3 separate regions of the Homo sapiens genome follow, and regions 1 and 3 are each linked to region 2. Evidence: promoter capture Hi-C in 16 types of primary human blood cells and fetal thymus (Javierre and others, 2016). All regions are on one chromosome and are shown on one strand. The core of a region is centred on a gene start or on the middle of the fragment in contact, and the rest is flanking DNA. Distances in the headings are between cores, read along the strand shown. Region 1 holds the start of MBNL3 (muscleblind like splicing regulator 3). Region 2 holds the start of INTS6L (integrator complex subunit 6 like). Region 3 holds the start of STK26 (serine/threonine kinase 26).

The links. The method cuts DNA at HindIII sites, captures the fragments that hold promoters and counts their contacts. A CHiCAGO score of 5 or more calls a contact.
Region 1: the fragment with the promoter of MBNL3 here is called in contact with the fragment with the promoter of INTS6L in region 2 in 1 of 17 cell types (monocytes); the score reaches 5.2 in monocytes.
Region 3: a contact is called between the fragment with the promoter of STK26 here and the fragment with the promoter of INTS6L in region 2, in 2 of 17 cell types (non-activated CD4 T cells and fetal thymus). The highest score is 5.6, in non-activated CD4 T cells.

Annotation. Positions count from the first base shown.
Region 1 is chrX:132,486,256-132,490,355 of GRCh38, forward strand. MBNL3 (muscleblind like splicing regulator 3) reads right to left here and starts at 2,783. Exons shown (of 9, transcript NM_001386889.1): 1 at 2,596-2,783. RefSeq lists a silencer at 3,062-3,631. The HindIII fragment of the contact is 7,236 bases long and covers 2,098-4,100 here.
Region 2 is chrX:135,518,421-135,522,398 of GRCh38, forward strand. INTS6L (integrator complex subunit 6 like) reads left to right here and starts at 2,240. Exons shown (of 18, transcript NM_001351601.3): 1 at 2,240-2,683; 2 at 2,821-2,898. The coding sequence starts at 2,573. It overlaps INTS6L-AS1 (INTS6L antisense RNA 1), which reads right to left and starts at 2,254. Exons shown (of 2, transcript NR_046740.1): 1 at 2,147-2,254; 2 at 1,663-1,952. RefSeq lists enhancers at 2,394-2,473, 2,504-2,563 and silencers at 2,814-3,083, 3,144-3,343. The HindIII fragment of the contact is 2,771 bases long and covers 1,680-3,978 here.
Region 3 is chrX:132,021,948-132,025,744 of GRCh38, forward strand. It overlaps STK26 (serine/threonine kinase 26), which reads left to right and starts at 1,355. Exons shown (of 12, transcript NM_016542.4): 1 at 1,355-1,460; 2 at 1,561-1,712. The coding sequence starts at 1,671. RefSeq lists enhancers at 903-1,449, 937-986, 1,437-1,596, 1,450-1,997, 1,967-2,036 and a silencer at 1,147-1,396. The HindIII fragment of the contact is 2,994 bases long and covers 1-2,390 here.

The DNA.
Region 1 (4,100 bases), core at 1,533-4,032, 3.0 Mb before region 2:
CATTCCCTCCCCTCGTCCCTCACACATAAAGGCAGCTGGGTGGAGAACAAAACTGTACTAAACTATACTGTCAACATCTGCACAACAGTCAAGAGACTGTCACTGTTCCAGCATGTGTGGTACTATACAATCACTCAAAAGACAAAACCTTTTTTATTCCCAAGCTGCTGTGATACTGGGAAGTATCACAGTGAAGCTGGAGAGATAATAATACACCTACTGGTCAAAAGCATGAAGTATACAAGTGCCTGGAAGTACAATGAGAGGCAAGAGAACCCTTTAGAAGCAAATACAATGCAGACAACTAGGGGAATGTACATTCTACTCTTCTTTGAATGTTTAGGTTCTTGTGAGTGCATAAAAATGCCTTCCGTTTAAATTAAAAGCTGTACCCAAAATCTATTCCACTGTGAGTTTATAAGCTATTCTTCTTTTTAATGTAACATTTATTAAGCACCTAGTTTGTGCAAAGCATTATCTAGGTAGAGGGTGGTGCAAGAGAATACCAAAGGTCCTTTGCTACCAGCTCATAATCATAAAAAGCAGCTGTTGTGAAATGCCTGAAGTGGACAGTTGAGGAAAAAAAAGGTACTTTATAATAGTCCTGGGAGTCATTACGATTGCTTAAAGTAGCAAAGGAAATTAGAGAAATGAAGTAGCTCTTAGAAGTAGAGCAAAACATGCAGTCACCACCTCTAGCCCAGCACTATATCAATTATCTCTCAAAACATTTTTTTTTTACAAACTCCTTCACTTATGTTTTCATATAAGGTCTCCAATCTCATCACTGTATGAGGCAGCAGAATGTTAACTGGCAAAATTTCCTAATTTCTCTGACACCAGTTTAGCTTGTCTATTCTGGCCTCAAGGTTTAGTATTTTCACTTTTCTTTCTTTCTTTTTTTCTTTTTTTTTAAGGATGCATTTGGTCCGAAGTCTTTTAGCAGCAAGGTAGCACATCCGGAAGCAAACAGTACTGAACTGGGATCTAAGTCCATAATCACTAAAAATGGGAGAAGTTGCTTTTTCTCATCCTCCCTTTACCAAAATGCAAGTGTTTATTGCTCTACCTGCAGGAACTCTCATTTTAGACATGAAGCAATGAATTGCCCCACATACTTCTTTCAAGAATAATATGAAAAACTGCTGAAAATTTGTTGTATAGTAATTCCATTGTAAACAGTTTGGTTGTTTGTTTCTAGGTAGACTACAGCACCTGGGCAGAAAACTGCACCATGCTTTAATAAGGGCAAAACAATATTTTTCTCCCTTTCCACACACTTGCTAAATTTAGTAGCAGAGCGTCTGCCAACCAAGTAGTTTCTACTGCTTTGGGAGAAGGAGTGAACAGCGATAGAATATTATCAGCTGAGCTGTGGGCAGAAGCCCATTTTAGTCTATATTTGAAGAAGTGTTGGTAAATATGAAAGCATCCCCCAAAAGTATCGCACATTAGAAAAAAGTTAAAAATTATTTTAAAAAGTAGTTAAACATTCAGGATTAGATTTTCATGGGCCAAGGAGAAGATGGAAATATAATCAGGAAAAATCCAAGGTGTCTGATAAGCCTCATTGTCTATTTACCTTTCACTGGAGGGGGAAACAAAACAAAACAAAATTCAGATAAATTGTATCAAGCATGGATGTTTAGTCATTCCCACATACCAACAATCTGTTTTCCAAACATTATATCAGTAATCACCCAAACGTTTATTCACTAAAGCAGGGAGTCCGCTTAATAAAAAAAGTACCAATCACTTCAAAATTAAATCTTGCAAGTTTTGTTTTAATTGATTCTTTCCCATGAAGTCTACCCACAAATACGGAGAGGCTGTGGGGATCCCAGCTCAATTTACAAACGATGTAAGAACATCTAGGAGAAAATAACTCCTTTAAAACATATTACTTTAATTAGAGCCACAATTAATTTATCTGTTTTATCTATCATCTAGCTAGCTAGCTAGCTAGCTAGCTATCTAAGAGTGCTCAGAAAAACACACAGTAGGTCTATTACCCTAATTATGAAACCACAACAAAGAATCACTTAAATGTCAACTTTCATTACTCGTCTGGGTTTAATTTCGTTTTCTTACCATAAAAGCTTATTGTGTGAGTGTTAAAAACTAAAGTTCCCTTTTTAATAGTCTCCTAAAATCTACTCTCATGCCCTTCAAACCCCAGTAGTAAAAGCGAGCTGCCCAAACGTGTTGACTCAGGGCAGGAAGAGACAAGGTTCTGCAAGGAAGCTGTGGCACTGCTCACGATATCGCGTGAAAATGGGGAAATTCGTTGTTAAAAAGCATTTGCTGATTATATGCCATGCAAGAAGTTCCTTTAAATTAAAAAGAAGAAAGTAGAAAAAAAGAAAGAAGGAAGGAAGGGGAGGAGGAAGAGAAGAGGAGGAAGAGAAGGAAGAAGAAAAAGGAGGAGGAGGAAAGGAGGAGGAAAATGATCAAAGCTCTAAAATCGCAACAAAGTTGCAGGATGACTTTTCCTCCTATTTGCTATTTTGTAAAATGAAGTTTAAAAGGCATTATTTCCTCGGCGTCCGAGGAAGGCAGCCTCTCTTACAAATCCCAATTCATCTCCAGCCTTACCTTACGCTGCTAGCGCAAACCCAGAGGCTAAGGGGCCCTGCTCTCAGCGGCAGCAGCAGGGGCAGCGGCAGCGACAGCGGCACATGCCATCTGTTAGCGGCAGAAGCAAAAGCAGCGCTGCGCGAGGTGGCCCCGGTGCCGGGAGAGCCTTTAGCAGGGGTGCATACTGAATGCCGCCATTTTAAAGCGAGGTTCCTGAAATCATTAGATATAAGCAAATTAAAGCCCGCCCCACCTCCAGAACTTCAGGGCTGGGACTTGCAACCCGGCTCCAAGTCGGCCGCTCTGGGGTATAAAATGTCAAGTCTACAGACACGCGCACGCTGACTCTCGGACGGAGGCGACGGTTCCCCCTCTCCCTTCGGCCCCCTTGACCCCTTCGTGCTTTTTGCAAGACTCCTTTCGGTTCCAGGGGCCAGAATACTTTCTTTTCTGGGCTCCTCGAGGCCCCTTCCCGGGGCCGGCCGGCGGGCTGTGGGAGGAGGGGACAAGGCCACGGGCCGGCCCTACCCGCTCCTCCCAGGCTCTTGGTTCAGTCCACTCGGAGCACACCTCGGAGCGCCCCAGCTCCCTCGCGGAGGCCGGGCGTGGGGCTCCCGCCCGGGCTCGCAGCTACCATAGCAACCCCGGTCCCAACCCCGCCCGGCCTTTGCCAAAGGCGTGCCCTCCTCCCGGGCCAGTGCCCTCCGCCGGACGCCAGACGTCCCCTCGCGCAGCCCCGCCGACCCCAGGCAGCCCGGGCTGGGGCCGCGCCTCCGTGCGTCCCGCGCCGGACAGACGCGGCACGCGGAGGGAAACGGCGCCAGCGAGGGGCTTTAGGCGCCAAAACGGAAACTCCCGCGAAACTCCGCGGGCCAGCGGAGCGCGGGCGGGCATCCGGAGCGCCGGACTCGGAAGCGGCGCACGCGGCCGCCCGGCCCCGCCCCGCCCGGCCAGGTAGCGCGGCGCCGCCGCCAACCTCACCTGGCTCCGCGCGCCGCTGCGGGACGGGCGGGAATGCGGCCAAGGGCCGCCCCGGCTCCCGCGCCCACCCCGGACTCTCTGGCCTCCGCCTCTCTCTCACTGCTCCCAAAGAGCGCCAAAAAGTCGCGCTGCGGCTCACGCTCGGAGTGCGGGCACTTTCTTCCTGTAGGGCGCTGTTTCGTCGCGAAATATATTCTTTGTGTGGTTCGCTCACTCGTGCCTGGTTCTCCGAGAGCGCAGCGCGGGCTTTATTCTCAGGGGGTGTGGCGCCTCGCCCCCAAACCCAGCAGCCCAGCCCCCGCTGCACAGACCCTTTGTCATTTCATTAGGAAGGGAAAGGGGGACAAATCATAACGCTCAGATTTTACAAAAGCGAAAACAAACGAAGCAGGCACACATCCCCAGAGGCGGGGTTGGGGTAGGGGTGCAAAGTTTCTGGCTCTTCAGGAACTGAAGTGCCAGTGAGAAAGGCAGTGTGGTTCACAGCGGGACGCTCATAGACACTTCCCAGACAGGTGAGGCGAAATGGGTCCTTTCAAAAT
Region 2 (3,978 bases), core at 990-3,489:
ATTCTGCCAGAAATCTGAATGAGCCTGGAAGCCAGTTCTTTCCCAGGTGAACCTCCAGATGAAAACAGCCTGGCTGACACGTTGACTGCAGACTTATGAGACTAAGTAGAGAACCCAGGTAAACTTAGACCTCTGACTCATGGAAACTGTGAGATAGTAAATGCTTGTGTTGTTTTAAGCCACTAAATTTGTAATAATTTGTTAAACAGCAGTAGAAAACTAACACACTGCCCCCAACAGTCCTATATTTTTTGTACCCTAGCCCATGTAGGCATTGCCCTTCTACACTGACATTTGTATCGGAATGGAAATGGGGGCTTCTAGTATCTTTTTCATCCTTATTTCTTCATTAATTCCCTACTTTCCACCAGAATGGCCTGAAATGCACCATACATAGTACTATCTTTGGCTGAGTTTTTGTTCATATCATTCCTTCCAACCCAGATTCCCTCTCTTCCCTTTTTGTGCCTTGTTCGTGAAATCCTATGAATTTCTAGACTGGACCATTGTTTCCATAGCACTTTTTAACTTGCATCCTTGTTTGTCCCTGATTCATATACTGCCATATGACTTCTTTTAAAATCGTATTTCTCTGAGAATGTTATTGAATGTGCATATATAATATATGAAACATATACACAGAACATACATATATATATAGAGAGAGAGAGAGAGAGAGAGAGTGTATATAAAATATATAAAATACTTTTTTGAGATGTTATCTCATTCTGTTGCCCAGGCTGGAGTGCAGTGGTGTGATCTCAGTTCACTGCAACCTCCGTCTCCTGGGTTGAAGTGATTCTCCTGCCTCAGCCTCCCAAGTAGCTGGGACTACAGGCGCCTGCTCCCATGCCCGGCTAATTTTTGTATTTTTAGTAGAGACGGGGGTTTCACCATGTTGGCCAGGCTGGTCTCAAACTCCTGCCCTCAAATGATCCACCCACCTCGGCCTCCCAAAGTGCTGGAATTACAGGCATGAGCCACTGCGCCTGGCCAAAATATATAAAATATTATGTATGTATATGTCATCATCTCTCCTCAATGAAACTGCAAACTCATTGAAGTCCTGGATTCCACATTGTCAATAGTAATTGCCAGGAATACACAAGTCCAATTTTTAAAATTGTGTCATATGAAGTAGTCAATCAAGTGTGGTTGGCCACTTACTGAGTCTCTTCACAGAGCCAGACCTGAGAGTATCCGTAATTGTTACCCTAACCTCAGGGAGCTGCATTTTCCTCTACTGAAAATTGAATACAATGCCATCTGCCATAATTAATTCAAAGATTAAACAAGGCTACCGTGGGTGCCTGGCTCTTCATAGGCACTCAATAAATGTGAGTTGAGAGCCTGCCCCTGTGGTCCCAGCTACTTGAGAGGCTGAGATGGGAGGATCGCTTAAGCCCAGGAGCTGGACGCTGCAGGCAGCTATGATGGGGCCACTGCACTCCAGCCTGGGCGATCAAGCGAGATCCTCTTTATTTATTTATAAAAATAAATAAATAAATAAATATGTGAGTTGAATCACAATCTAGGTTTGCAAACCTCCATGTGTAAAGGCTGCGCAGAGGGAACAGTGGTGGAATTATCACAGGCAGGCCAATGTTTCAAAGAGCTTAGTGAAACTGAAGAAGCTTGTGCATACAAAAGGCCAGTTTAGGTAACTGTAACTGTGTTTAAGCTTTAGTTTCCTTTCTAAGTAGATATATGTGGAATGCAAGGCCAGCAACCAACTCACAAATACTGATCAAGACGGGGGAGGGATCTAAAGGAATGTGAGTACGTCCTGCCAGGAAAGAAGTTTGCTGCTTCTGAAATATTTTCGTCTTCGCCACTGGCAGGATTGATCGATTGCAGTTAGCGAAGAATTTTCTGTGCAAACTGTCCAAGCATCTGCTTCTGTACTTCTGTACAACTGTTGCTCAAATTCACTCTTCTTTTCGAATCACCATCTTTGAAGAGAGACAGAAAAATCCATTTAAACCACCCGAACTAATCATTCGAACTGCTTCCAAGTCCTTTAAAGGAGAATCCTAGCGAGGGTCCGTAACACTTCCCCTTACCCTCTGCCTGGGTTCAAACTTCAACTCCCAGGGTTCGCCCAAGTCCCTCCCCTAGTCCTGTCATCTAATGAATATGCAAATACCACATAATTGGCAGCCAATGGCATGGGTTCTGGTCACATGGTGCCGATGGTAGGTGAGCAGACAGAAGTTGTCAGTGAACAGAGACGGCGCTCAGTCTGGGGCGAGCGCTCTAGTGAGCGCGGACGGATGCTTAGGCAGTAGTCCTGGCAGCGGCAGTAGTGGTGGCAGCAGAAGAGAGGAAGGGGGAGGGCCCCGAGGGCTACACACGCTCACACTTTCAAGTTCCCTTGGAGGGAGAGGAGGTGGGGCTGCAGAAAGAGGAGGCCAGGAGCGGTCCCATCCGTCCCGTCCCGTCCCGTCTCCCCCTCTTCCTCTTGCTCCTTGCTCCCCGGCTCTGCGAGAGTTGAGGGTTCAGGTGGCCGTACGCGGCAGTGAGGGCAAGAGGGCCGGGAGAGTGGGGAGCGGAGGCAGGAGTGCGGGGGAAGATGCCCATCCTGCTGTTCCTCATAGACACGTCCGCCTCTATGAACCAGCGCACTGACCTGGGCACCTCTTATTTGGACATTGCCAAAGGCGCTGTGGAGTTATTCTTGAAGGTAAAGGGAGGGGAGGGGAGAGATGGGGAGAGCTCCCGAGGGATTTCAGGGTGTGGATTGAGGTGCTTCTGTAACGTTTGTATCGCCCTCCCCCCTCCTTTCCTACGCGACCCCCTCCGTCATCCCTTGCCCCGCAGCTGCGCGCCCGGGACCCGGCCAGCCGTGGAGACAGGTACATGCTGGTCACCTACGACGAACCCCCGTACTGCATCAAGGTAAAGGGGCTACGGGTGGGGGGACAGGCGGGAAGCGGGAGCAAGTCGGCGGGGGCTGCTTACCCCCCTGCCCCCGCCTAAGGCGGTCCTGCGTCGCCCGGCGGGGCGGGCGGCGAGGGGGTGCGCAGAGGGCGGGCGGAGTGGTGCCGTCGGCGGCTTCGGAGTAGCTGTCGCGCCTGGGGTCGGGGAGAGGGGACCGGGGAGGAGCAGCCCCGGGGAGAAACCGCAGGAGGGCCGAGCTCGTGGCGCGACAACCGCAGCCGCCTCGGAACATGGCGGACATTTTGCTTTTGTATGAGCCTGCGAGAGGGAGACTGAGGGCGCTGCTGAGATGGAAAGGAGGGAGGGGAGGGAGGAGCGGGGAAGGAGGGCCCGAAACCCGGAGGGAGGCTGCGAGGCGGGCCCGCCCCTTCGAGGCGCACCGCGCGAGGGTCGCCGCGCGGGGGGCCGGACGGAGCCTGCGACTCCGCCCCGAGGTCCTGCCGGCCGGGCGCGCGGGCTTTCCCGGAGCCTGGGCTCCTCCTCTGGCCCCTCCTTCCTCCCCCGGTCTTCCTCCCCCTCCTTGGGCTCTTCGCTGCATCTCCTCCTTCTCCCCCTCTTCCTCCTGGTCCCCTCCCCTTCCTGCTGAGAGCGTGGCAGAGCCAGCCGCCGGCCTTCAAAGACTAGACAACCGCCTTTGCACTCGTTGGCCTCTCACCACCCCCGCGCAATCGGAAATCTGTCCGCGACGCCAGTCTCCCCACCCCCAGACCCGGAGAAAGTCTTTGCGTTTCTGCTCCGGAATTGGCCAGGTTCAGCCCCGCTCTCAGTTACCTTAGCTACTGTTACTGTTTCATTGGAAATTCCAGCGAAGCAACGACACGGAGGGGGACGTGCCAAGTGCGAACCCACAGGGGCAGAGCTTTTTAGGGATCCGCTCTACCTATTTACATCATAAATTAGGTTTGTGCTAGCCACGTAGGAATTAATCCAGGGACAAGAAAGAAAGGAAGGGGAGGACTCAAATGTGAGCATTTGTAATAGTCAAGTTCGATGATTTGATTCTGACCTACAGGAGAAAAGTAGGGAGGACGGTCTCTG
Region 3 (3,797 bases), core at 105-2,604, 3.5 Mb before region 2:
GAGGGACCTGCGTCTGAATTCCCAGCTGTACCACTTCTTAATTGCGTGACATTTCGGTCAAATTATTTAACCTGGTTGAGCCTTTTTCTTCATCTGTAAAATGAGGGGAAATCAATAAGACTCCAGAAGGCCCTTGTACAGGTTCAGTAAGGTATTAATAACACATAGAAAGCACTTAGCAGTCCCTGGCACAATGAAAATAATATCCATTAATAATAACGATATTGATAAGAATTATATACTATTCTCTGAAAAAGATTTAAAAGGAAGAAGAGAAACTATCTTTTACCACTAGAGGCCCCCCACCGTGTGGTGCGTAGAGACCCATAACAAATTTCAAGGTAAGGAACTTCATCTTCATTTTAAACTGGCACTCGACTATTACTTTTTTAAAAAGTAATTAACCCCTTACGTGTTCCCAAAGGTGCCTTCATAATGAAATTCCTGTTACTATTATTACCAGTGTTACTGTCGCTACTGTTAGAGTACTCTCAAAAGAGCCTGTCTCCCTCTCCTGGAGTAGAACTTAAAATGGGGCGGAGGCAGGGAGTTACCAAAACCACTGCAGTGTATGCTGATTTCAATAACCTGTACTGCTAACGATCCAATCTCATTTCCCAAGCCTCTACTATCCTCATTAATTTTTCTGCCGATGTACCATCTGTTTTCCAATTTCCCTCTGCCTTACACGTGCAGAACTTGTGGTAGAGAGAAGCCCTAGTTTGGCCGTTCTGCAAGGGATAGCCCAGGAGGTAGGGGGAACCTTAAGTTGAAGTCACCTGAAGCATGTTTGGGGTCAGGGAACTCGGAAAGCAAGAGTGTGGCCACAGATCTGCCCAGAGGCGCGACCCCCAGCTGAGGAGACCAGATGGCGGGAAAAAGCGGGGGTCCACCGACTCCGCGGCTATCTGTAATCCTACCCTTGGCCAGGCCGGGGAGCCAAGAAAGACTTCCAACACTCCCCAAGTTTCAGCTCAAGTCGTCTCCGAGGCTGCGTGTGCCCCAGCCTCGCACGCCTCCCTGCAACGTGGCCGCATCTGGGGCGCCCTCATACCCTCAGGGTTTCCCAAACTCTTCCATTCTCTTCCCAGGCCCAGCCATGTCCCAGGTCTCCGGGTCCCCGGGTTCTCCTCTCCGCGTGCCGGGAGAGTCTCCAGCTTCTCAGACTCCAGCAACCCCAGCCAAACCTCTTCGCTGCCTGGAGCCTTGGCTCCCGCGACACCGCCCGGCTGCGGGGCGGGGGCAGGGCCAACGGCGGAACCGCCCCCAACCGCCTCCCAGGCCAGGCGAGCAGGCGGGTGGCTGGGGCGCCTCCACCTCCTCTTCCTAAAGCGGCGAGGCGCAGAGGAGCGGCATCACTCGAGCCCAGGTCCCAGCCACCACCACTCACAGCGCTCGGCGTTCAGGAAGAGGAGCAGCAGCGGAGGCGGCTGCTTCAGCGGCGGGCGGGCGCCAGAAAGGTAGACTGAGTCCCAGGGAGCTGCGCCGCTAACAGCCCACCTCCTAGCCCCGGGCTACGCGCCGCCAGCCCAGTAACCCCACTTTTGTGTGTCCTCCCAGGCCCCGATCGAAAAGCCTGGGAGGGCCGCCGAACTACCCCCGGAGGGAGGAGCCAGTCCGAACCCAAGGCGCCACCGCCGCAGAAGCGGAGCGAGGCAGCATTCGCCTCCATGGCCCACTCGCCGGTGGCTGTCCAAGTGCCTGGGATGCAGGTGAGGAAGCGCAGGCCGCCCCCGCCGCCCACGTGACTGCTTGGGAGCCCGGTGCGCCCTCGGTGCTGGGCACCGGCGACAAGGGACGGCCCCAGGGCTCCCCTGAGGGCAGGGCCGGTCACTATGGCCAGGTGACCTGGGAGTAGGGCTGGAGGTGTTTCCTGGTGTGTAGGCTAGGTAGTGCTCTTCGCTGGGAAGGCGAGGCGGGACTGGAGCGCGCAACTAGGTGGAGATTGAGGGCGGTTGGGGGTATAAAAATAGGCCAGAGCCACAGACACCTGCGCCTGCTGAGCTTGGCACGGTTGGGGATGGGGGGGCGGAACTTAACCTGGGAGAGATGGAAGTGCCTTGGAATTTGTGGGGTATAACGCGAGTAGTGAGTGCCCTACACCCCCCACCCCAAACACACACTCAAGTTGGGGCGGGGCAACACCAGGGGTGGCGGCGGCGGCGGCTTGAATTGGGCTCTTCCTGTGTGCGTAGGGCTAAGAGAGAGGTGACCTCTTTCTCCCTTTCGGTACTGCTGCTTAAGGGCAAAGTTGTAGCTTGCTCCCCGACCTAGCCCAGCCCATAGTGTGGCGTGAGAAATGCTGGTTCTGTTCAGAGTCACTGAGGTGATGACTTCTCAGCCCCCTCCGTGCCTTTCCCACAAGATGACTGTTACATGTGGTTAAAGGAAGCTTTTTGTCTTGGACAAGGGACTACTGCATGGGACCCAACTTGTTACTCGAAGTCTACCCAGCCCAACCCCCTCCCATTATATTTTCATTTTATTAAAGATAAGCTATGTCAGAAAACTTTTTATGCTGTTATGTTTTTAAATCGGTGCATTTTAGGCTATCTGCTAAGTGTTATCCAAATTTACTAACTTTTTAAAGCATTCATGTTCTATTTTTTTTTCCTTTGCTAGATGGCCTAAACAACCCATTTAGGGGCTAAAACCACTGAAGCCTCAGTCTTTCATGATCTAAAATGTGAAAACAAACTTTTTTGAAGTTCAAAAATAAAATGTTTATAGTAAATAGCTTATATTTCTAGTAGAAATCAAAGAGCTGTAGACTGGGGCCTCAATTTACTTATTGATACATGGAGTTTTTTTTTTTTTTTCAGTGTTCTCATTTTATGAATGTCCACAAAAGTGATTTTTAAATTCTTTCCCAAAATGGGATTTATTTGTGCACCTAGAACTCTTGGTGTGTCCTAAACACCAGACATTTCAGCTGCATTTAGGGCAAGTCTGGGTTGAGTCTCAGGAAGTTAGTGTATATTAAATAAAGAGAGAGAGAGAAAGGGAAATAGGAAATAGTAGGGCTTAAAAAAAAAGATTAATCCACTCAAGCCTTGCAAAATGCCTTAAACTTTCTTCCTCTCAGGCGGCCTCCCCTCTCCTTCCCTCCTTCTTTTCCCCACGCACCCTGCCCCACACCCCATTCATTCAGTTCTGCCTTTGATTGTATCAAGGGAATTCATAGTTCACAATACTAAGTACAGTTTTGCTGTTTGATCTGGGAAAAAGTGACATTTTCTCACCGTGCTCTTCTTTCCATTCTGTGGAGAGTAAAACGATGCACATGTGAAGTTTGTCTCTGAGGGTCTCCATGCTTCTCGCTCCATTGTGTGCGCGAGCCTGCGTGTGTGCGTCAGCAGAGTGAGTGCCTCCAGTTCATCAAGTTTGTGATTCTGGGGAACTCTGTGTGCTGAGGGGAAAATGGTTTCTGATTTTTATTTTATTTGTCTTGAACTTATTGAATTTATATGGTTTAGGAACTGCTTGCTGTTCAGTATTTCTGATTGCTCCCTGCTTTTAATTATCTGAGTTGCCTATCTCTTGAATTTTTAAATCTTAATTAATGTGGATTCGAATGTGAATCATATACTTTAAATTACAAATTCTGCCTTTCACTCTGTGCCCTCTGAGTTGTGATTACTTTGTCCCACCTAATTTGAGTAGGGCAAACATCTCAACGTTAGCAAAGAAGAGAGGAATCTTTTTTTTTTTTTTTTTTGGTCATTCTCTTCATCTTAATGAAATGGTAAATTCTTAACTTCTTATTTCCATTTTATTTCTAATGTAGTTCTTAAGCA